6 separate regions of the Homo sapiens genome follow, and all the other regions are linked to region 3. The links are contacts of gene promoters, found by promoter capture Hi-C in blood cells and fetal thymus (Javierre and others, 2016). All regions are on one chromosome and are shown on one strand. The core of a region is centred on a gene start or on the middle of the fragment in contact, and the rest is flanking DNA. Distances in the headings are between cores, read along the strand shown. Region 1 has its middle 5.2 kb from the start of LCE6A. Region 2 holds the start of SPRR1A (small proline rich protein 1A). Region 3 holds the start of IVL (involucrin). Region 4 holds the start of SPRR3 (small proline rich protein 3). Region 5 has its middle 6.4 kb from the start of LCE1A. Region 6 holds the start of LCE1D (late cornified envelope 1D).

What was found. Contacts are between HindIII fragments. The CHiCAGO score rates a contact against its expected background, and 5 or more counts as called.
Region 1: a fragment that was not itself captured here is called in contact with the fragment with the promoter of IVL in region 3 in 1 of 17 cell types (naive CD8 T cells); the score reaches 5.3 in naive CD8 T cells.
Region 2: the fragment with the promoter of SPRR1A here is called in contact with the fragment with the promoter of IVL in region 3 in 2 of 17 cell types (naive CD8 T cells and naive CD4 T cells); the score reaches 5.6 in naive CD8 T cells.
Region 4: the fragment with the promoter of SPRR3 here is called in contact with the fragment with the promoter of IVL in region 3 in 1 of 17 cell types (naive CD4 T cells); the score reaches 5.4 in naive CD4 T cells.
Region 5: a fragment that was not itself captured here is called in contact with the fragment with the promoter of IVL in region 3 in 3 of 17 cell types (naive CD8 T cells, activated CD4 T cells and non-activated CD4 T cells); the score reaches 5.8 in naive CD8 T cells.
Region 6: the fragment with the promoter of LCE1D here is called in contact with the fragment with the promoter of IVL in region 3 in 11 of 17 cell types (neutrophils, endothelial precursors, erythroblasts and 8 more); the score reaches 14.7 in neutrophils.

Annotation. Positions count from the first base shown.
Region 1 is chr1:152,835,448-152,839,788 of GRCh38, forward strand. No RefSeq gene overlaps it. Among named protein-coding and RNA genes, the nearest start is that of LCE6A, 5.2 kb to the right of the region's middle. The HindIII fragment of the contact is 379 bases long and covers 2,864-3,242 here.
Region 2 is chr1:152,981,217-152,985,330 of GRCh38, forward strand. SPRR1A (small proline rich protein 1A) reads left to right here and starts at 2,865. Exons shown (of 2, transcript NM_005987.4): 1 at 2,865-2,909; 2 at 3,996-4,114. The coding sequence starts at 4,015. The HindIII fragment of the contact is 3,855 bases long and covers 1-3,848 here.
Region 3 is chr1:152,906,545-152,910,354 of GRCh38, forward strand. IVL (involucrin) reads left to right here and starts at 2,002. Exons shown (of 2, transcript NM_005547.4): 1 at 2,002-2,045; 2 at 3,235-3,810. The coding sequence starts at 3,254. RefSeq lists promoters at 1-3,242, 1,103-2,042, 1,762-1,996, enhancers at 1-769, 1-51, 202-684, 1,603-1,882, a cis regulatory region at 1,352-1,848 and silencers at 1,617-1,669, 2,042-3,242. The HindIII fragment of the contact is 6,184 bases long and covers 1-3,810 here.
Region 4 is chr1:152,999,908-153,003,993 of GRCh38, forward strand. It overlaps SPRR3 (small proline rich protein 3), which reads left to right and starts at 1,842. Exons shown (of 2, transcript NM_001097589.2): 1 at 1,842-1,886; 2 at 3,095-3,949. The coding sequence starts at 3,114. The coding sequence ends at 3,623. The HindIII fragment of the contact is 2,627 bases long and covers 162-2,788 here.
Region 5 is chr1:152,819,152-152,823,022 of GRCh38, forward strand. No RefSeq gene overlaps it. Among named protein-coding and RNA genes, the nearest start is that of LCE1A, 6.4 kb to the right of the region's middle. The HindIII fragment of the contact is 1,302 bases long and covers 712-2,013 here.
Region 6 is chr1:152,794,839-152,799,040 of GRCh38, forward strand. It overlaps LCE1D (late cornified envelope 1D), which reads left to right and starts at 1,883. Exons shown (of 2, transcript NM_178352.3): 1 at 1,883-1,933; 2 at 2,935-3,343. The coding sequence starts at 2,957. The coding sequence ends at 3,301. The HindIII fragment of the contact is 8,213 bases long and covers 1-3,362 here.

The sequences.
Region 1 (4,341 bases), core at 1,803-4,302, 70 kb before region 3:
ATTTTGCAACCTACACATCTGACAAAAGGCTAATATCCAGAATCTACAATGAACTCAAACAAATTTACAAGAAAAAAACAAACAACCCCATCAAAAAGTCGGCGAAGGATATGAACAGACACTTCTCAAAAGAAGACATTTATGCAGCCAAAAGACACATGAAAAAATGCTCATCATCACTGGCCATCAAAGAAATGCAAATCAAAACCACAATGAGATACCATCTCACACCAGTTAGAATGGCGATCATTAAAAAGTCAGGAAACAACAGGTGCTGGAGAGGATGTGGAGAAATAGGAACACTTTTACACTGTTGGTGGGACTGTAAACTAGTTCAACCACTGTGGAAGTCAGTGTGGCAACTCCTCAGGGATCTAGAACTAGAAATACCATTTGACCCAGCCATCCCATTACTGGGTATATACCCAAAGGATTATAAATCATGTTGCTATAAAGACACATGCACACGTATGTTTATTGCGGCACTATTCACAATAGCAAAGACTTGGAACCAACTCAAATGTCCAACAATGATAGACTGGATTAAGAAAATGTGGCACATATACACCATGGAATACTATGCAGCCATAAAAAATGATGAGTTCATGTCCTTTGTAGGGACATGGATGAAGCTGGAAACCATCATTCTCAGCAAACTATTGCAAGGACAAAAAACCAAACACCACATGCTCTCACTCATAGGTGGGAATTGAACCATGAGAGCACATGGACACAGGAAGGGGAACATCACACACCGGGGCCTGTTGTGGGGTCGGGGTAGAGGGGAGGGATAGCATTAGGAGATATACATAATGCTAAATGACGAGTTAATGGGTGCAGCACATCAACATGGCACATGTATACATATGTAACTAACCTGCACATTGTGCACATGTATCCTAAAACTTAAAGTATAATAATAAAAAAAAAAATAGTTTCCTATAATTCTTTAAAAGTGGCAACAATGGCTACTTTGGAATTTTTGTTTATTAAGTCCAGCCTTTGGGCCGTCTCCCAGGAAGTTTCTGTTTATTGCTTCTTTTCCTGTGTAAGGGTCACACTTTCTAGTTTATTTGCATGTATCATGTGTTTTTTCTTTAAAAGTGGTTATTTTAGAGATTAGAATGTAGCAACTCTGTGTAATGATACTCCTCTCCCTTTAAGGTGTGCTGTTGCTTGTTTATTTGTTTGACTATTTAGATAGACTATATTAGTAAAGTCTATTTCTCCTGAAATGGGATGTCTCTGATGTCACTCCTCAGGGGACTCAACCCTGGGCTTGCTCACAGTTACCCTGAATGACAGTAGGTTTAGCAGAACTCTCTTTGGTTGTCTCTTCGATGATTTCTCTGTTAAGCTATCTCTGTTGGCATCACACACAACTGTTAGGCTTCACAACAGTTGCTGACAGATTGGTTTATTATTTCTGATAATGTCCTAGAACACAAACAGAAATTGCTTCATAATTGAAGCCAATTAAGTCTAGGCCCCTTTTCAAGGGTAGTGTTTGAGGCCAGGTTTGAAATTTGTTCTAAACTCGGGAAGACTCTACTTAGCCCTCACTTTCCTTGGTTTTCTCTGGTAAACAAGCTGCCCTATGGTTTAGCATATTGCTCTTATGACTCAACAGCCTCTTCTTAAATGCTTGCCAACAAAATCTCTCCCATTTACCAAAGTGCCTTTAAGCTTGAACGTCCCCACACTCTTTTCCAAATATAGTCAGTTCCTTTGGTGAGAACTTTGGAGTTCTCTGGGTTTTCTGGACATCCTCTTCCCTGGACAAATTCTCTTAGCCACTGCTTTTGAGCTGAGGGCAAATGTCTCCTGGAGCTCACTGCTGATTAATGAGCAGAACACTTTAATGGGGTGGCAACCACTATTCTTCTTGGATTGTTTCTCCCACCATCGATCCTCCACCCTACAAGTGAGCTGGGACAAAGGACTTTGGTGTCCCAATATTCTTGCCCTGCTGCACCTGAGGTAGAGTGACTGCCTGCCCCATGAGTGGGAGATGGGGAGTAAGAAAGCCCCCAATCTCTTAGAGTCCCCCTCCTGGAATTTAGCCTCTATACCACAGAACTAAGGGAAGAGGTGTAAGAAATGTTGGCAGCCTCCCCCTCACAGGAAGACACTGGAGGCCATGATTTGGAGCTAAAGGGGGATGGAACCTTATCTCATTGATTGCATCTTCCAAGAGTGGAGCTAGCATCATGCCCAACTGGAAGAGATTAGGGAGGGTGCAAGTTGTGATTCAAGTGCCACAGACTATTGTTATTGTTACTATGATTTAGTAGATTTTCTTGAATAAAAGTTTTTTAATTTGCTCTATACCCTTAGGACAATTTGCAAAGGATGATTGCAAAACTTTTTTTTCAAGTCTTAATTATTTTGCTAGGAGAAGGGTCCAAGGAGTTCTTCATGCCACTGTTCTGAAAGTCCTCCCTAAAGGGATTTTTATTTAATTTGTCTTAGGTTTTCCATAAGGCTTTTTAGAAAATACTCTGAATTGAGATTTTATGTATTTATAGATTTCTTTTATAATTTAGTCTTTAAAAGTTTTTTTAACATAGAGTTGTGAACAACCTAAGCTGTGGACACAGTTTTTTTGTATTTATTTATTTATTTTTAATTCTTTTTTTTTTTATACTTTAAGTTCTAGGGTACATGTGCACAATGTGCAGGTTTGTTACATATGTATATATGTGCCATGTCGGTGTGCTGCACCCATTAACTCATCATTTACATTAGGTATATCTCCTAATGCTTTCCCTCCCCACTTCCCCCACCCCACAACAGGCCCGGTGTGTGATGTTCCCCTTCCTGCTGTGGACACAGTTTTAATTATTTTCTTCTAAATCTTAGAAGCTTTCTTTTCTCTTTCTTTGGATGATGAGAAAGGGAAAAAAGAGACTTACTCGTCTGATGAAGAAAACACTACACTAAGCTCTTCTTTTGCCAATGACAATTTATTCTATTGAAATGGAAACTAAACCACTTATATCCAATGGTCTACATCAGGGGCATCCAATCTTTTGGCTTCCTTGGTCCACATTGGAAGAAGAAAAATTGTCTTGGGCCACACATAAAATACTATTAATACTTGGGCCACACAATAATACTAACAATAGATGATGGTCTAAAAAAAATCACAAAAAATTTCATGTTTTAAGAAGGTTTACAAATTTGTGATGGGTCACATTCAAAGCCGTCCTGGGTCACATGGGGCCCACAGGAGTTGAACAAGCTTGGCCTAGATTAACAAGCCAGTTCTGATGATATTATAGTCTTGAGTACAAGTCAGGATAATTGGTGGTTTGGATACCATCCTACCTGGAGGAAAGAGGTAGGACCAGATCTCTTGGCCTTTCTTCCTAAGAAAACATGAGCAGGGCTGGGTTCTAAAATAAGAAGTACCTGTAGAAAACATGATATAGATTTCTTTTATTTATTTATTTATTTATTTATTTTTTTATTATACTTTAAGTTTTAGGGTACATGTGCACATTGTGCAGGTTAGTTACGTATGTATACATGTGCCATGCTGGTGCGCTGCACCCACTAACTCGTCATCTAGCATTAGGTATATCTCCCAATGCTATCCCTCCCCCCTCCCCCCCCACCACAGTCCCCAGAGTGTGATATTCCCCTTCCTGTGTCCATGTGATCTCATTGTTCAATTCTCACCTATGAGTGAGAATATGCGGTGTTTGGTTTTTTTGTTCTTGCGATAGTTTACTGAGAATGATGATTTCCAATTTCATCCATGTCCCTACAAAGGACATGAACACTCCCCTCAAACTAAACTCTTTGGCACAGTCTAAGTAAAAATATAATAGTGTTCAGGAAATATAGTTGAGGTGCCCACAGTGTGATGTGGACAATCCCAAACTCACTGTAAGTGTCTGATTTCATCATGGCCTGAGTCTGTATTTCATCAGAATTAATTGACTCAGGACATAATATTTGAAAAGCATTCTGTAAACTAAAGTTCTTTGCAAACATCTGTGATGGGGATTTTTAAAAACTTAATAATTAACAAACCTAATAACTAGTAACTGTAATGAACCATTGTGTACACTGAAATGGGGCTTGAGATATACAGATAATAGCCCCATGTTCAAGGCATTAACAATATCACATACAAGTACAATTGTTTATGATAATAAATTATATGTATAACAAGTAATAAATGCTCTGAAAGATTTTCTCAGCCAGGCATTGTCTAGAAATTCATTACAGAGAACACGGGATTTGAACTGGCCCTCGGAAGTAGTCTCAGAAGAGGAACCAAGAAAGACAAGAAGTAAGACACAAAGAAAGACAAAAAGAAAAAGAAAAAGA
Region 2 (4,114 bases), core at 1,615-4,114, 76 kb after region 3:
AATACACAGAGAGAAGAATGTCAGAGACCAAGAGAAAGTTCCAGAGTCTGGAGCCCAAGCAGGCTTGGGTGGGGTGAAGGAAGCACATGTTGAGGCACGCAGGACTGTCCAGTAAGGAGCTGATAACCAGGGAGAAGGAAATTCCTTTGCATCCAGGGCTAAGGTCCAGGGAGGGCATGAGAACACACCAGCTTCAGAGGTGGCTTCAGATCATCCAGGGCCTGAGACAAGCTGGGTGACACCAGAGGACAGACAACTAGGCAGCAGGTTCCTGCAGGGCTGAGAATCCTACCAGACATAGCAACAGGTTCCAGCAGCCCCTGCTGTCAGGGCTCCTGGGTGGGGACTTGGTGAAGAAGGGGACCTGGGCACAAACCTAGAGGAGAGCTAAGTGAGGCAAGAGTCTTGGAGCTCAGGTGTCCTGGTGGGGCTGGCACCAGCCCGGAGCAAGGTGGGGCATTAAACTGTTTGACAGTGAGGCAGGTGGGTGGGGAGGGCAGCAGGTACACTGTGTACCGGAGCTTCTAGGCAGGTTTCAAAGTAGACTCTCAGCCTGTCTTTACAAATAACGCCATTCAGTCATTCATTCATTCAGTCAGCCAGCCAGCCAGCCAGCCAGGCAGTCGGTCTATAAATGCCAGTCACCAAGCAGCTTCTGCACGCCAGGCACTGTGTGAGGATGGAGATGGATAGGGACCAATGGCTGCATGGACACAGTGGGAGGCTGACCTTGGCCTCAGGTTCACTGGCTGTGGAGCCAGCAGGTGCTCCACAAACATTTAGGTGTGTGTTTGGGTAAAGGAGGGGTTAGATGAGGAGGAGGAACCATCTGAACACCTGAGTTTTAAGGATGATTTGGATTTTCCAAAGGCCACACCTAGTAACAGTTTGTGTTTTGAGTGCAGCTCTGAATCAGAGACCTCAGTTTTATGGCAATTGCCTATGGAAAGATTGAGGGAACCCCTGTTCTTGTGTCCCCAGGAAAGAGAAGTTCCTTGGCAGGGCAGAATCTGACCATCGTGGAGTGAAGGCAAGCATGTGCAGGTGCTCAGGGGCTTATCACCTACTGCCTCCCCCAGTGCCTTCACCTCAGCTGTGTCACGATGTCACTCTGAGAGCTCCCCTAGAGCGAAAGCAACTCAGGATAGAAGCAGACATTTTAGTTTTGGCTTTTCCCTTCCTTTCTCCGACCCTGGTGCCCTGAGTAATGATAAACTGAACCTTATTTCCACCTATTCTAATTCATGCCCTTCTTACTTTAGCAGAGCTAGAAACACCCACTGTTTAGAGCCACTCAAATATTAAGCATCTTTATTTCTACTTAAAGGGATTTATCTTAGCACCGATTAAGGCTTACCCACAAGGCAAGGCTCTTTCTGTGTCCTCACGCTGTCACTCCTAAAACTTTCCAGAACTACAAGTGACCCAGCTCTCAGTCAGGAAGGGCTCCCCTTTCCACCTCTAATCAATTTTCTGCCTGGGCTTAATTTCCTCCATAGACATTAGGGAGTCACAAGGAATTAAAACAAAGGAGAACACAGGATTTCTGTGTAAAATTCTTTTCTTCCTAGGGTTTGTTTTTTTGACCTTGGTGAGTTATTTCACCTCTGGTGGCCTCAGATTCCCCAATCATCCCTTGAGGAGTGTGAACTAAAGGCTCTCTGAGATCCATAATCTCAGTGGCTCTCAACTGTGCTCTGTCTCTTACCCTGGGGAGTTCATGATCTGTAGAGGAAAAGTGGGCTTCCTCATCAGAGAGCTCCTAGAATGACAGGCATGATGGGCATATGTTAGGCTCCCCACTGAGATTTGTTGAATAAATGAGGAAATAAACACTGTGGTGGGGACACCGTTGCTTTAAGCAGGAACAGCTCTGACCCTCGGAAAGCCCCCAGGAGATACAGACCCAGAAGGAGGAGGAAAACCTTGCAGCCAGCAGGATCTCTAGGTATTGGGGCTGGAGCTGGCAGTGGGCAAAAGTGGAGAAGGATTCAGCATTGAGGACCCCATGGATGGGCTGCAGGGAGGCAGGTAGAAAAGGCTTTTGGGTTTTCAGGTGGGGGGCAGTCTAGCCTGATCAGAAAGGAGGAAAAGGCCAGGGCCAGATGTCTGGGTGGAGTGAAGGGAAAAAGTGATCCCAGAAGAAGGATTAGCCCCTGAAAGTCCCTGAAGTAGGAGAAGGGTAAAGGTGTGGTTGGTGAAGGAAAGCAGGTTTTCCCAGATTAGCAACCAGTCAGGGGGAGGAAGGTGAGAGTGGGAGAGTCATAAGTAAATTATTCTGAATGTGTGTAGTTTAATGGAATTGGGAAAAAGATGGGGGAAATGGATGGAAGGGTCTTGGACTCTGAGACAAGGGGTCTATAATCAGTCCATTTCATTATTTCTAGCTTCCACCTTCACCAAGGCAGACAAGGAGGGCCCACCTCAGCTCCTCTGCTCCCCCTCCCTTTCCCACCTATTCATGTGTGCAAGAGTGCCCTGTCCCACAGAACACGGGGAACAACCATCTCAATGACAAGGACAGCAGGTGGCAAGGCCTCAACAGGACTCAGATGTCCCCCCAGGGTTAACTCATGAAACCCTCCATGAAGCCTGCTGCTCACCCCTCCCTCAAGGCAAGCCCTGCACCTGGGTCTGAGGATGAGGGTGGCAGTGAAAATTAGGCCAGTGACATCATTTTCAGCCAGCCAGTGCCAAAAAATATCAGGTGGTGTTCATCAAAAAAGCTGAGCCAACCGGTGATGAGGATGGTAGTGTGAGTCATGTGTGACAGGTGAGGAATGAAAACAGAGTGCCCGAGAGCTTCTATTTCCTTGAGGCAGGGCTCATTCATCTTATAAAAGCCAGCTGGCCATTGCCTTCACACCAAACCCAAGGGACCACACAGCCCATTCTGCTCCGTATACCAGGTAAGTCTCTGATTGCAACAAACTGGCAATTCTAGTGTACTTTTTCATTATTAGAAATTAGCTAAAGGCAAATATGTGTAAGCAGGTTAATCCAGGGTTTCAATGGGAGATAGAGAATAGTGGAATATCTTTATTTTAAGTTAAATTACAGTCTGGATTTGAAAGGACCTTAGAGATGGTTAGGGCTCCCACCTCAGTAGATAGTCATTGAACTGGGAGTCCTGGAGAAGATTGTTCAAATGCCCATGGGAAGTTCATAGCAGAACTAGAACTCAGGCCCAGAGCACTCTCAGTAACACTGCAATTTCCCCCTGACAAGATATTTATAGAAATTTTAATTTATTAGATGGATCTCTACTGAGCATTTATTCCATTTAAGGCAGTATGCTAGGCACTTTGGACAAATCAATGCCTAACGTACTTACTTAACAAACATAAAACCTAGCAGGAAGGTAATACATATATATAAATAAATGAAATGCAAAGTAGATAGTAATTGGCATGACGGAGATGGGCAGAGAAGGGCTGTGCACTTTTGGGAGACCTTGCTCAAGGAGACCCTCCTAGGGGTGTCAAGTGATGTGAGCTATGATGGAGGGGTATTTGGACAAGCAGAGATGGGAAGAAAAGCATTTGGAAGGGACTGTGTAAGCACAGACCAGAAGCAAAACCATAGAGGCTTAGATGAATATAAAGCCATCCTATAAGTCACAGGCTTTCTACATGGTACTAGGAGAGGAAAGTGGTCTGATGCCATTTTCCAAAAGACCTAATATGCGGACCTCATGTCCCTCAGAAGCCAGCTTTAGTAGGGCATTTTTCCAGAACAGATATAAGTTGCCTTGGGTAGGAAGGGAGCCAAGAAGAGAACTCCAATAAAATGGAGCAGAAGAAATTGCCTTTTAGCTCCTCCTCTTCAAAGGGCCTGAAAATTATCCAAGCTTATTTCATTTTTAAATGTAATGGGGGAGTTAAGGGAGATGAAAGGCTTTCTCTTCTAAAGGGTCCTGAAATAAAATCTGTTTGGCATTGAATTTGTATCCATCTTTCTTTAATTGAATCACTGTGTCAGCTTTCTGTCTCTAGAAAAAAACACATTTGAAGCATGAATTCTCAGCAGCAGAAGCAGCCTTGCACCCCACCCCCTCAGCCTCAGCAGCAGCAGGTGAAACAACCTTGCCAGCCTCCACCCCAGGAACCATGCA
Region 3 (3,810 bases), core at 752-3,251:
GCAGATTCCCCCCAGATGAAGTCAGCAGCAGAGCACAAGGGCATCAGCGCCAAAGTAAGGATGCTTGATTAGTTCTTCAGGGCAGAGTGGGCTGTGCTTCCTCTGCCCCAGAAAATGGCACAGTCCCTGTTCTATGGGAAAAAGAATGTGAGGTCCCTGGGTGGGCTCAGGGAACAGAGAGGTCATGAGGAGGGGATAGCACTGCAGAAACCAAGGGTGCCTTGTGAGTCCTCCCTCTGTCTTTTTAGGCATGATCCAGGAACATGACAAAATTAGTGCTTTAAATAGATTTACTTGGGGCTAAGAGAAATGTGCCTGTCAGGAAAACTATGGGGAATCAGGACACTTCTCAAAATTAGCCCCACTGAGTATTGTCTTTATAATTCCTTCTTTTTGGATTAGATTGTAAAAAAGAGAGTGTAAATGAATGATGTCCATATAATAAGTTATTAGCCAACCATTAAAAAGAAAGGGAAGAAATAAATCAGTTTGGTTTTTACACACACATACAGACACACACATATAAACATTGATCAACACTGAAATGTTTAATAGTCATTATTTTCGGGTCGTAAAATTCACTGTTCTTCAATGAATACTTGTAGAGCACATATTATATGCAGTAGTTTTGATAGGTTCTAGGGGTATAGTGGAAAACATACCAGGTATACGCTGCTCTTAGCTTATTTTCCAGTGGGAAAGATAGACAATAAGCAAGTGAACAAATGCAAATAAATTACTCTAGATTGTTATAAGTGAAATTAAGTACCAATCCTTTAGATATGGTACACAGAGAAGGATCTCTGACAGACCCCAACATTGACACTGAAGCTGAAAGGCATAAAAGAACCAGAGACCTGGGGAGGGGCCGGTGGGCAGAAGGAGAGCAGGTGCCAAGCCCCCAGGTGGAGAGCTCTGGGCTCATCTCAGGAACCGAAGGCCCTCAGTGAGGTAAGAATATACCTCTCAGGGAGAGATTGACATGAATTGGGGCCCCAGAAGAAGGCAGAAGCCAGGTACCCAGGGTCTTTTAAACCACGGCAGTGAGTTTGAATGTTATTTCAAGTGTGCTGGTGCACTGTTGGCACGGGGGAGAGATGTGCTCAAATCCCCACTCTGAAAGATTTCTTAAGCTATTTCTAGAGTATGATTTACAACAGGAAATGGATGATTTGATTCTGATCTTTATACCTTCATGCATTTAAAAAAGTACTTAAGAAAGTAGTTTGGTTTGTCATTATAAAAAGCAATACTTATTTTTATATTGTGTAGATTCAATCTTGTTTCCTTGCCTAGAGTGGGCCGTGCTTTGGAGTTCTTATGAGCATGGCATTCCTGAGAACTTCTCTAACTGCAGCCTCGGGCATAGAGGCTGGGCAGCAAGTGGCAGCAGCAGAGGACTCCTAGAAGCCTTCTACTTGACTCTACTTGGCCTAAAGTCAAACTCCCTCCACCAAAGACAGAGTTTATTTCCACATAGGATGGAGTTAAAAAATATATTCTGAGAGAGGAAGGGCTTGTGGCCCAAGAGAACACCCCAGAAATACCACCCCTTCATGGGAAGTGACTCTATCTTCAAACATATAACCCAGCCTGGACATCCCCGAAAGACACATAACTTTCCATTTCATGCCCTTGAAAGTGAATCTTTTGGCCTAATAATGAGAACAAACTCATTTTGAAAGTGGAAAAATTGAGATTCAGAGCAGAAGTTTGACTAAGGTCACAAAACAGTAGGATGCCTCACTCAGCTCCCTGTGCCTAGGTCAGAAAAGCATCACAGGAATAGTTGAGCTACCAGAATCCTCTGGCCAGGCAGGAGCTGTGTGTCCCTGGGAAATGGGGCCCTAAAGGGTTTGCTGCTTAAGATGCCTGTGGTGAGTCAGGAAGGGGTTAGAGGAAGTTGACCAACTAGAGTGGTGAAACCTGTCCATCACCTTCAACCTGGAGGGAGGCCAGGCTGCAGAATGATATAAAGAGTGCCCTGACTCCTGCTCAGCTCAGCACTCCACCAAAGCCTCTGCCTCAGCCTTACTGTGAGTCTGGTAAGTGTCGGATGGTAGAACCAGGGTTGGGACTCGGGACCTCCAACAGCATACGATGTGGTGGGGGTGGGCAGCCTGGGTGGGGGTGGGCATTACTCTGGGGCTGGATTCAGCTGGACTTTCATTCTAGGGGGACTCGAGTCAGAGTACTGAGAGAAAAGTGCCTTGGCACAGAAGTGCAGAACAGAGAGTAATCATCCTATGTCCCATCTTTTCTTGTGACCATATTTTTGGATTTGTGTGTGAGAGAGAATTATGGAAGGGAGGAGGGGAATAGCATTCAACTTCTTTCCTAAACCTCTTGGGTTTTGACAGACCATCATTTTGCCTTCTTTATGGAGGGAGAGGTTCAGGGAAGAGCTTCTACCTTTTGGCTATGCTGCACAGAGGGATGGCAGAATGGGGAAACCTTTCTATTTGGAGAAACCTAGGCAGAGCTGGGACAGGAAAACTCAACTTAGAAGTATAAGACTTGGAAGAACAACCTCCAACTCTCAGCAACCTTCCAGCTCCCGCAGCCCCACCCCAGACACAAGGACTGCAGCTAAACCTCAGAAGGTCAGGAGAGAAAGCAGCCCTGGGGTTGAATAGGCCAACCTGCTGGCTTTACAGGGGGGAAAACCAAATCCCAGGAGACTAAGTGACATGCCCAGAAACACACAGCATTCCAATGGGAGATTCAGGCCTAGAGCATGTCCTGTGGCTCCAGTCTGGAGGTCACACCATGACCTCTTAGGTCCTCTCTGGCACGGCCTATTGGTTTTCTAGGACTTGGTGTTCTCCAAGAGACATTTCATTCCCTAAGGCCTTACTCCTCACTGTGACATAATCCCAGAACGCATCTCTGCTCCTTGGTCAGTGAAGCGATGAGGGTGGACACAAGGACTAGACAAGAGCAGACAGTGAGCTGGCACCTGACCCACCCTTGCAGAACAGCCCTGCAGACAGATCTCCTTGTTGGCTCTCACCTGGGAACAAGGAGGCTCCTAGGAGGACCTTTCTCTGCCCCTCCACATTTCCACCCTTCTCTCTCTGCTGCTTTTGGGAAATGATAGTCCAGAGGTGGTAGAACAGTACCCTGCCCAAGGGAAGAGGGGATGCTAAAAAACCAGATACTTCTGCAGATTCCCAAGGTTTCATCTATTTCCTTTGCCTTCAGCCTGTGCATCAGACCTCTTCTGTCTTTCAGGTTGACAGTAGCTTCTAAGATGTCCCAGCAACACACACTGCCAGTGACCCTCTCCCCTGCCCTCAGTCAGGAGCTCCTCAAGACTGTTCCTCCTCCAGTCAATACCCATCAGGAGCAAATGAAACAGCCAACTCCACTGCCTCCCCCATGCCAGAAGGTGCCTGTCGAGCTCCCAGTGGAGGTCCCATCAAAGCAAGAGGAAAAGCACATGACTGCTGTAAAGGGACTGCCTGAGCAAGAATGTGAGCAACAGCAGAAGGAGCCACAGGAGCAGGAGCTGCAGCAACAGCACTGGGAACAGCATGAGGAATATCAGAAAGCAGAAAACCCAGAGCAGCAGCTTAAGCAGGAGAAAACACAAAGGGATCAGCAGCTAAACAAACAGCTGGAAGAAGAGAAGAAGCTCTTAGACCAGCAACTGGATCAAGAGCTAGTCAAGAGAGATGAGCAACTGGGAATGAAGAAAGAGCAACTGTTGGAGCTCCCAGAGCAGCAGGAGGGGCACCTGAAGCACCTAGAGCAGCAGGAGGGACAGCTGAAGCACCCGGAGCAGCAGGAGGGGCAGCTGGAGCTCCC
Region 4 (4,086 bases), core at 592-3,091, 93 kb after region 3:
CTCTAAAACTGAGGCCAGACTTACCAGCACACCCAACACTGCTCATGAGAAAACAAAGCTTCTCTGAAAGAGGCTTAACGTTCAGGCGCTGAGTGTGTTTGACTAAACAGGAATAACAGGGTTGGGGTAAAACGAGAATTTCAATAAGCTGATGGCAGAGAAGCTTTTGTTGGGGTGAATGAGGCAAGAGTTAGAGAAGGGCAGGAGAGAGCCCGCCCAGGGAAGGGACACAGGAAATCAGAAAGGAATTTCCTCTAGAACCAAGGTGCAGAATCGAGGAAGAAAATGAGGGAGACCAGGATTCATAGAGGAGCTTCCTTCCTCTGGGGAGGAAAATCCCAGGTGGAGCAGCAGGGTCTAGCCGAAGCCCCCAGGGTCTGTGGCTCCTGAGAGGTGGATTTGCTGAGGAGAGAAACCTGGACCCAACACTGAAAAAGAGCTAATGTGATGACAGAGCCCAGAGTTTAGGCATGGCAGTGGCCCTGGCCCATCCCAGAGGGAAGTGGCCGGTCAAACAAATGCTAGCAGAGAGGGAAGGACATGGGTGTGGAAGGGAGGGTAAGCCTCTTCTCCTTCATGAATTATCAGCTCACACCTCTTCTCAGCTCACACCAGGAGGCCTGGCACAGGACAGTGAATCATGCCCAAGAAACTGCCTTGTGGCTTCCTGCCTTCCTCCCTCCCTCCCTATCTTTCCTCTTTTCTTTTCTCTTTTCTTTTCTTTTCCTTTCCTTCCCCTCCCCTTCCTTTCTTCCTTCCTTTCTTTCTTTCTTTCCTTCTCTCTCTCTCTCTTTCTTTCTTTCTTTCCTTTCTTCTTTATCTATCTCTGTTTCTTTCTCACTTCCTTTCTCCCTTCCATGAACCTACAGCTCTATTCAGGAGAACAATGACTGTCCATTGACTTAACACCCATGATAACCAGGCACTGTGTGACGCTGAAGTAGAACAAGGGGCTTTCAGAACCTGGTGGAAGGAGCTGGGCATCAGGTTCAAGGGAGTAACACAGTCGTGGAACATTGGGAAAGGAGGAGCTATTCACATGCCTGAGATGTAAGGATGTCTGGATTTTCCAAGGGCCGCGTCTAGTAAGAGAGTGTGTATTGAGGGCAACTCTGAGTTAGTGACTTGAGGTTCATCCTGTAGTGATCAGAGGAAATGGCTGGTGTATGAACCTAGGGAATCAGCACGCTCCTCTTCCTATGTCACTCCTGGAGAAGAAAGATACCACAAGAGGCAGGGTCTTCAGGGCTGAGCCACAATGTCACACAGATCCAGTCAATCCTGCCTGTCCATCTCAATGACATCTACTATCCCTGATCAACACGGCACCTTAAGGCGCCCTTCACAGTGAAAGCAACTTATTTCCAAAGCAGGCATTTTGCCTTCCATTGCTCCTCCCAGGTCCAAATCCAGTAAGAGACTGAAAATCAGATGATTCACTTATTCTGCACCATCCCCATGGCCTCGCAGAACCAGAAATGCCTATTGTTATTTCCATGTCCACTTCAACCATGAGGAAGCCCAATAGGACTAATCTGGCTAAAGATTAGGGCCCAGGCCAAGAGGCCTGGCTCGTTCTAGTCCTAGGAGCATGGTACTTCCTCCTAATTTAATCCATTGCCATTCAAGAAGACCTTTGCCCACAGCAACCACACCACAAAGGGTGGACAGTGAGTCAGGCCCAGGTGACATCACTGTCAGAGCTTAAGTGACAAAAAATGTTAAGCCAGAGATACTTATCACAAAAGCTGGAATGAAGTTAGAGCAGTCTTTTAAAAAATCCAATTTTCTTAAGGCAGGGCTCATTTTCTATATAAATACCAGCTAACAAGAGACTCTTCACCAGATCCCAGAGGCTGAACACCTCGACCTTCTCTGCACAGCAGGTGAGTCTCCGCATTAGGAACACCTTAATATTCTCCAATAGTTTCTTTATTTTGATTGAGATCTCTTTGCTATGCAATGAATATATTTATTTTAAATGCAATAACGACTTTTGTTTAAGGTGACCTTATACATATTTTGACTTTCCACTCAGATTACAGGTGTGGAACTTAGGATCAGAAAAGGGGAGTGATTTCTGTAAAGGCTTGCTAAGTTAGCAAGACAATATACCCACTTCAAGAGCACTCTCCTGTCAACATGTATTGAAAATTTTTAATATAGAAGGCACTACATTGGCAATTTTGATGATCAAAAGATAAGTTTTTCTTTATTGCATGAATGTATAATCCATTAGAAAACATATACTTGACTAAAATTTGCAAACATACAGCATGGGGAGTGATTAGCAGAGAGGGAAAGCAAGTATCATGCTGTGGCAAAACGAGGAAGGTGAGAGCATCAGGAAGGACAGCCATGAGAGGTGGGCATGTGTGGGGAGGCAGCGATGATGTGGAGAGCCTGCCAGAGAGCATGTGCAGCAGGCACAGTGTGAACAGAGGCTCCCAGGTGGATTGTGGGAGCCTTAGGGGGAAGTTTAGATAAGAGTTCTCCTGGGAGAACTATCGCACTCTATAAGGAGGACATGAGTGAGTAGATTCTAGACTGCTGACCTTAAAATCTTTCCAACTTATGGAAAAACTGAGGTGTCACATCAATCTTCAGCCAATGACACACAGCCAAGAGTGGTATTAAAAGTGATTTAATCAGGGAAGAGCAAGAAACATGCATTTCTTTTCACTCAATTCCTCAGATGATCCCTGAGCAGCTGAAGACCAGAAAAGCCACTAAGACTTTCTGCTTAATTCAGGAGCTTAGAGGATTCTTCAAAGAGTGTGTAAGCGAAAGCTTCAGAGTATATATTTGCATATTTGTATGTGTTTTCATGTTGTACGTAGGTTTTTAGATGTACCAGGAAGAAAAGAAGCATAAAGAAAGGCTCCATTTACACGATGTGGAAGAAATCAACTTTACCTTATTCTCTGGAAGATAAGTGGGGATCACCAAAGCATCCCATGATCTCAAATTCAGGGAAAAAGAAAGAAAAGAGAGGCTCTCAGTTCTGAAGGAGAATGAAATGACAGATATTTGTCATTAAACTGGGCTTCATTCCTACTTAATCAAAGCACTGAATTAGCTGTTTTGTCTCTAGGTCCAGCATCCTTTGAAGCATGAGTTCTTACCAGCAGAAGCAGACCTTTACCCCACCACCTCAGCTTCAACAGCAGCAGGTGAAACAACCCAGCCAGCCTCCACCTCAGGAAATATTTGTTCCCACAACCAAGGAGCCATGCCACTCAAAGGTTCCACAACCTGGAAACACAAAGATTCCAGAGCCAGGCTGTACCAAGGTCCCTGAGCCAGGCTGTACCAAGGTCCCTGAGCCAGGCTGTACCAAGGTCCCTGAGCCAGGTTGTACCAAGGTCCCTGAGCCAGGCTGTACCAAGGTCCCTGAGCCAGGTTGTACCAAGGTCCCTGAGCCAGGCTACACCAAGGTCCCTGAACCAGGCAGCATCAAGGTCCCTGACCAAGGCTTCATCAAGTTTCCTGAGCCAGGTGCCATCAAAGTTCCTGAGCAAGGATACACCAAAGTTCCTGTGCCAGGCTACACAAAGCTACCAGAGCCATGTCCTTCAACGGTCACTCCAGGCCCAGCTCAGCAGAAGACCAAGCAGAAGTAATTTGGTGCACAGACAAGCCCTTGAGAAGCCAACCACCAGATGCTGGACACCCTCTTCCCATCTGTTTCTGTGTCTTAATTGTCTGTAGACCTTGTAATCAGCACATTGTCACCCCAAGCCATAGTCTCTCTCTTATTTGTATCCTAAAAATACGTACTATAAAGCTTTTGTTCACACACACTCTGAAGAATCCTGTAAGCCCCTGAATTAAGCAGAAAGTCTTCATGGCTTTTCTGGTCTTCGGCTGCTCAGGGTTCATCTGAAGATTCGAATGAAAAGAAATGCATGTTTCCTGCTCTTCCCTCATTAAATTGCTTTTAATTCCAGTCTTGGCTGTGTGTGTCATTGGCAGAATCTTCCTCCTTCCTTGTTTCCCCATTGTGAGTCAGGACCTATAGACAGAGAGGAGTTGATGTAGAAGTCATCTATTTAACCCCAGTACTGTTTGTTTCTATGGGTGTAT
Region 5 (3,871 bases), core at 113-2,612, 88 kb before region 3:
ACTACTTCTGAAATCAGTTTAGTTCGAGGCATATCTTTGTGTAAAAATTGCACTTGTATTAACCTTCCATTAAATGTCTCTTTCTTCCTCTTCCATCTCCATTAAATTCTCTGCACTTTTTTCCAGAACACATTCCCTATACCACATGTCTGAAATTGTCACTCTACTTCCTCAAAACAGAGGCTTTCTATAGAAAAATGCATGTGCTTCTTAAGTATTACATTTGAGACTCAGCAGGAATTGTTTCCAACTTCTTTTCTAAGGTTTACCATTCATACTTCCCATGACACCCCATGTTCTTGCCGCACTGAGCAACTCATAACTTACACTTGTATATATTCATCCTTTTTTTTCTGAGAAGCTGTAAGTAGAATTTACTATTCATAGCTCTGTATCTAGAATACTATAAGTCTTCAATAAAGAGTAGCTTCTCTTGATATTTTATAAGTGTTGCCACTACTACTACTGCTACCCTTAGTATCACTACTAACTACTGTAATCATTACTTACTATTACTATTAGCAGCATTACTTGCTATTTCCTCTATCTGAAGTTCCTCCAAATCTCTCCCCACCATCTGGACATTGTGTAATTCTGTCCCTCTTTTAAGGTTCACCTCAAATGTCATCCTTCTATGAAATCTTATCCGATTGTGTGTTTTCTTAAGCTGGTGGATGTTAAAAAATCTGTCTACAACCCTCACATTGAGCAAGCTTAGCTTGGAGGATGTAATAAAATTATAGCTTTTTAAAAATTTAAAAATTTTAAAAGTAAAATTGTCCTTAAAATTTTACTCAGTGGGATGGTTTTCCTTCCTAAATGACAAGTTGAAAGGCCAACTGACTTTACAGCTCTTTCAAAGTAATGCAAAATGATTTGTTACTTGAAATCACAAACGTGGGCCCAGTGCAGTGGCTCCTGCCTATAATCTCAGCACTTCGGGAGGCCCGAGAGAGAGGATCACTTGAACCTAGGAGTTTGAGACCAGGTGCGGCAACAAAGCAAGACCCCATTTCTAAAACAAAAAAATTACAAACTTGGTTTCAGTTCAGTAATGAAATATCCAGTCAGAAAAACAATATCAACGCCAAATTTGACTGGTTGGTTGATTGATTTTTTTTTTTTTTTTTTGAGACAGAGTCTCACTTTGTTGTGCAGGCTGGAGTGCAGTGGTGCAATCATGGCTCGCTGCAGCCTCAACCTCCTAGGCTCAAGTGATCCTCTCACCTCAGCCTACTGAGTAACTGGGACTACAGATGCACACCACCATGCCAGGCTGATTTTTGTATTTTTTTTTTTTTTTTAGAGACAGGATTTTGCCTGTTGTCCAGGGTGGTCTCGAACTCCTGGCCTCAAGAGGTCTGCCTGCCTCGGTCTGCCAAAGTGCTGGGATTACAGGCACAAGCCACTCTCCCCGGCCCCAAATTTGACTGAATGGCATATTTGCCCATATCCCTGCTCCAGTGGGCTGGCCCACCATACCAGAGAAAGGGAGCCTGGTCCTTCTACTCATTCCCCACCTAATGTCTGTCCTTCTCCAGCTTTCTAAATGTATTTTCTGAATGGAGAACAAAGAAAAGGCTCAGTCTGACATGTAGGCGCAATATCCTTCTGATACTGGAGCAACCAGGAAGCAGAATCCAATTTCTGACTCCTCCACTCTTGGGCATTTTAGTGTCTCCCCTCTATCTGTGATGTGAGTGATGCCTCTCCAGGGTGAATTTCTTGAAGTTCAGCCTTGGTTCCAGAATCTTCTCTTAGACAGTGGATAAATGGCTAAGAACAGTTGGTCTTGACAATGTGATCAACATCTGGTCATAGAAAGCACTCATGCATCATTTGACCCATGCTTGCAGAGGAACTAGAAACTCATCTTTGCTTAGATGACAAAACTGGTTTCATTTCCTCCATGTTTCCTGAGGGAAGAGTCGGGTCCTCATTCTGTATATCCCCCATATCAGGGACTCACCTGCAGGCTCCTCCCAGGGAAAGGACAAAGAGGGCAGGATCCTAAGCTTCTAGTCCTAGGAAATTCTCTTTCTTCCTTTTGTTTGCCGGAAATCTAGAGGATTTTTCTTATCCACCACAAGTCCCATTCTGATAAAATACTTATCTGTAACTTTCACATAATTAAACCCCAAACCTTGAGACTGGTGCAAATTTAAAAAAAAAAAAAAGAATGTAATAGTATATATATATATATATATATATACACATATATACACACACACATATATGTATGTATATATACACATATACGTATCTATGTATACACATATGTATGTATACATATATATACTATTAAATCTCTCTCTATATATATGTATATATACACAAAGAATTAAAATATGATGATGCAGGTGATGGTTATCAATGGGGAAAAGATGGCTATTCAATACCTGGAGTTAGGGAATTTTGATAACTGAAAAAAAAACGTAAACCCTCATTTAGTATTAGATGCCAAGACAAAATCCATGGGATTAAATATTTTGAGGAAATCGAATTATAAAGAAAGAAGTACTTGTAGCTAAATGTTTATCTTCTCCCAGGATTGAGAAAAACATTCTCAATATAAAAACAATTAAAGAAATTATAAAGAAAAATAAGCACAAATACATGCATATTAAATTAAATATTTTGCTAGAGAAGAGGAAAACAAAATTAAGTAAAATAATTTTTTGAAATATTTTAATATATATGAAATATAATAGAGTAATACCTTACTATATAAGTATGTGTTAAATTTTACATATGTATAAATTTCTTAAATAAAATATTTTACACAGATACAAACTTAAAAGGATTTCCTGGTAAACACTGCATGCATGTATTTTCCACTCATATTGAGAAATAAATAATCATAAATATGATTGAAACCATCCCCTTATATATCCCTTCTACCTAGAGATATTCATTATTCTGTATTTTGTGTTTTTCCTTCCTGTGCAATGCATATACTTTCCTGTGCTTATCTATCCTTAACTTATAATTTATTTATAAGTTAAAAATGTAACAATTCCTCTGTACTTAACTATACTTTATTTGTACTTAGCTATATTTTATTTATAACTTATTTCTATATTAGTTATAATTTGTATTTTTAATTTTCTAAAAGTGATCTACTCCATGACTTTGAGACATTTATCTATGTTGATACAGATGACTCAATTTCATTTTCATTTATTCTCACTATTGTATAGCATTCCAGTGTAAGAATATTCATACTTTACTTATGCATTCATCTGAAATTGGGTACTTACCTTGTTTTCACTTTGTACTTTATAAAAAGTGCTACTTTTTAACATTCTTACACATACTTTGGAACCTTTGCATCCAAGGCATACACTTATGAGAAGAATCAGCATGTTATTCAGTATATCTGCCTTCATCCTGACTAAATATTGCCAAATTACTCTTCAAAAGTTGTACTAATGTACATTCCCATCAGAGTACATGAAAATTTCTGTTATTCAACATCAATGAGAAGAATAAATAGTGAGAATTTTTCACTCTTACCAAGGTGATAGATGTGAAATTATATACCATCATGGTTTTTTCTTGCTTTTCTCTGATTCCTAGCAAGGTTGAAAAGCTTTTTCAAAAACATATTGGTTATTGGTTATTCAGGTTTTCACTTCTGGAAATCAATTTTCATGTGTTTTTCTCATTTTTCCTTTGGGTCATTGCTTTCTTCTCACTGATTTGTAGGGTTATTTATTTAGATACTAATTTGTTGTCAATTATATGTGTTGCAAATATCTTTTCATAATCTGTATTTTCATCTTTTGTGATGTTTTCTGGTTAAAGAAAATTTAATATAACCAAACTCAAGGGTTTTTGTTTGTTTGTAATGTGTTTGTCTCTGATGTGA
Region 6 (4,202 bases), core at 633-3,132, 110 kb before region 3:
ATTGAGCCACACTGTCCTGGAAGGGTAGAGGCCACGGCATGCACTGCAGGGAGAAGCATAATCAAAGTACAGAATATAATCCAGTTCAGTTTCAGAACATTTCTGAGAGTAGATGACAAAGGCTTAAACTAAAGGGAGAACACAGAGTCTTATTTCACTGAAGGAATTTGGACATTTACCCTTATACAGTGTGCAATCATGAACAAGACTTTACTAATGATTTAGTGTTAATTATGTACAGGGATGGAAGATGTTTTCTTGGATGTCATAAAAGAACAGAATCAAAGACACACTACAGTGTTTGGAGATACTACGTTATCACAGGAGTCTGGGCAGCTGTAATAATTGATGCTCTGAGACAGGTGGTACACACACATATACATCTCTCTCAATATGTATGCTCTGTATATGTGTTTATAAATATACATGTATCTCCACCACGTTTTGGTTAGGGTCACCATGTCCATTTTGACCTAGATATCATTCCCAAGTTCTGGGCATATCCAGAGTCTGTCAGGGGCTGGGAAGAAGAGGACTTGTCCCTCATATGGTTTAATCTGGCTTTTCTTGGTCTTCCTCTGAAGAAATAGTTTAATTTGTGGATAACCTTGCAGTCATGGCTGTCTTAGTGACTAGTGTGTCCTAGAATGAACAGCAGCCCATTTCATTAATATCCTAAAAATGTATAAATTCAGAACACTCCATTCATATAAATCCTGTGGACATGTAGAAAGCTAGTGATTCTAGTGGAGAGAGAGGAGAGGGGCTTCCAAAGTAGCAGCATAAACACATTCACATTAAATATTAAGGACTCTTGTTCTTAAAAGGCACCCGTCCCCTTATGGTCCAGGACGGGGTTCTGCCAGCCATTTGACCCCACATGGAAGCGTAGACTTATAATGTCTCACAACCATGTCTCTTTTCTTCCTGTTTCTCATCTGTGACCATCATCCGGTGCTCCCAGTGTGAACCCAGAAAAGTCCAAATTCTCACACCAATACAAAGAGCAGAGCTGCTGCTTCTTGTTTCTCTAATGAGCTGCTTCCTTGTTCACATCTCAGTGCTGACACATCAAGGACCCCACCAGAAGAAAAGGGCTATTTAAAAGCAAACAGATCACCAAACAGCCAGACTCACTCTCATTAGAAAAAAGCTGTGCTTCGTTTGTTAAACAAAGATCAGTATCTTCATTCTGTATTCAGCAAGTTATGAATGTTTCACTTATTCAGAGCCTACAATGTTTCAGTCTCTCTGTCAGGCACATTTTCTCTTTTTTGTGTTACTTTATTGACTTTCACAACCAACTAATTCTTCTGTAACTAATTCTTTTTCATCTTCCAGCTTTATGGTTTAAAAAATGGTACAGGCTAAATAGTTTCAACAGTCCCATCTCGCAGGGCCTGGTCCTGGGCCGGGTTATACTTCCAGGGTTTTACTTGTGTAGATGTCTACACTGCACCCACAGCCACACAGTTTGGTGGTGCACAGGGACAGAAATAAACATGCATGGAAACCTCAGGGATTAGTACTTCAACTTCAACCCAGGCTGCACGGAGCATCAGGTACTTCGGAAGAGACAGAAATGAGATAGGTCCTAAGTTCTAAGACTGAGAACTGAGAGGCTCTCAGGGCAAGCAGCCTTCAAGTGAATGAGGTAGGTGATGGTAGGAGTCATCCTGGAACCCCGTTTCAAGTAGGCACTTTCCTACCTGGGAGTGGCTGCCTTGAGCCTGGGGAGAGAGGCAGGTGAGGAGCTGTCAGTCACCAACCATCACAAGACCCACGTGGGTGTCAGAAGGAAGGTCCTCTCATGCCCAGGCCCTGTCTCACAGCTGGGGCAGAGCCCAGGCCAGGATAAAAGGGCTCAGGGCCAGACCACCCCATCCACTCACCTCCTGAGGTGCTAAAGAACCCTGTGCTGCCTGTGACTCCGGTAAGAACAGAGCAGGGATGCTCAGAACAGAGCAGGAGGGAAGGAGGGGCAGGGCCTCCGGGGCTAGGGCCATGTTGTCAGAGGTGGAGAGTTTAGAAAAGACTGAAGGGGCGGGGGCCAAAAGGGGTCTGGCACTAACTGGGAGCAGGAAGGAAAAGAGGAAAAGAGCTGGCGGGCTGTGCCATGTGCCTTTGAACTCTAGAGGAAACAAACTGCTCTGGGATGAGGTGGGTGTTCCAGAGTGGGAACTTTGAAGCACAGAGACCTGCTCCACTCTGGCAGCCCACAGGAGGGAAGCCCACCTCTGAAGATACAACCCTGTCTCTGCCTGCAAGGGAAGAACTGGAGCTGTGGACATGGGACTAAAGACTCTTTGGGGTTTATGAACCCCACATTTTCATGGGTCTGAGATTTGTTCACAAACTTCCCAGCTTGGTTAGGACACACCAAGCCTGAGACCCACCGTGTCATCCCATCAGCCTGAGCAGGTGGTGAGTGAGGAAGTCTGAGCTCCAACCTGAGATCAGGGGGTCAGGGTTCAAGTACTAGTCTGCAGAAACTGCTAAGTTTATCTGTCTCTATTGAAGTGAGTTTACTGACCTAGTAGTCTCCAAGATCCTGCACAATGCTGACCTTCCAAAGTAAAATCGTCTTGCAAATTATGACCAGAGAGAATGACTGCTTCTTCTCCTTTAAAAATAATTTTCTCTTAAATGACTCATAAATTAGACAATTTCAGTCTTAAGATATATTTGTAATAATTTCTTCCTCCACTGACAACACATCAGAATCTTAGATGCATTTTGCAATATTGTTTAGTCTTAGTTTACAGTTGTCTGACATCCAAAGATATCTTGAAAAAGATGATGTGAGATTTTGAGGAAATTATTGGAAATAAAACTACTGAAGATGATGCTTTTAAACTTGAGAGGTGCTAAGAGTGTCACAGGGGCAGAGGTGGCCTCTGCCTGGGTCTGACTTGTTATTTGACTCTCCCTCAGCTCCTGAACACCCACCACCGAGATGTCCTGCCAGCAGAGCCAGCAGCAGTGCCAGCCCCCTCCCAAGTGCACTCCCAAGTGCACTCCCAAGTGCCCCGCCCCTAAATGTCCCCCTAAGTGCCCTCCAGTCTCTTCCTGCTGCAGTGTCAGCTCCGGAGGCTGCTGTGGCTCCAGCTCTGGGGGCGGCTGTGGCTCCAACTCTGGGGGCTGCTGCAGCTCTGGGGGTGGTGGCTGCTGCCTGAGCCACCACAGGCGCCACAGGTCCCACCGTCGCAGACCCCAGAGCTCTGACTGCTGCAGCCAGCCCTCGGGGGGCTCCAGCTGCTGCGGTGGGGGCAGCAGCCAGCACTCTGGAGGCTGCTGCTGAAGTGGACCTTGACTTCCTCTTCCTTCTGATTCTGCCTGAATAGCTGAGAGGTTCCAGCAAAAGCTTGAAGTCTTGCCTGGAGAATCCCTCTGCTCTGGTGTCAGGAAACCCAAAATCTTTCTCCTTAATGGCATTTAGAGACTTTCTTCTGCAGATCCATGGCTGCCCTGGGAACTCCAAAGCACACACCTACTTCCTCCCCAGCTCACGCTACTGTATTCTGTGCTGCCTGAACTGAAGAAATAAAATCCAGAATCTGCTCCCCAATTTGCTACCAGCCTGCTTGATTTTCCTGTTTGTGTCATCCTTGTTCTGCTCCCCTGTGTCTGCTGGTGGCTGCTGAGGCCTTGGTGGACAGAGGATGGGGAAGGGGTCAGGAGGAAAAAGCTTGCATTTCTGTGTGTTTTGTGTTTTTTCTTCTTTCTGTGTTTTCCTTTTAAACCAAGGGACTGAAATAGCATTGAGAAATATTTTTCTTTCAAATTCTGGTTCCTTTCACCTATGTAACCGCATCCCTCAGGCATGGCCAGGAGGCCGACTTCATCCTCCTTCTCACTGTCACCTCTTCACTCTTGTGTTCCTCGTTCCCCACTCCTTCCACTAACAATCTCCCCGGACTCCTCCTTCAGATTGTATGTACACGTAGTAGACATATAAATATATGTGTGTGTACATGTATATATATACACACATATTTATATATACTCACATTATATGGAATAAATCTTTAGTTTTTAAACTTAAATCACTTTTATTGATCTATAACTTTCACACAATAAAACCCCTTTTTAAAATAAACAATTCAATTAGTTTTACCAAATGTATACACTCTTTTGTAACCACAATTGCAAGGAACACTCTAAAAATGTAGTTGATTATTTATTAATCATTATTTGCAGTA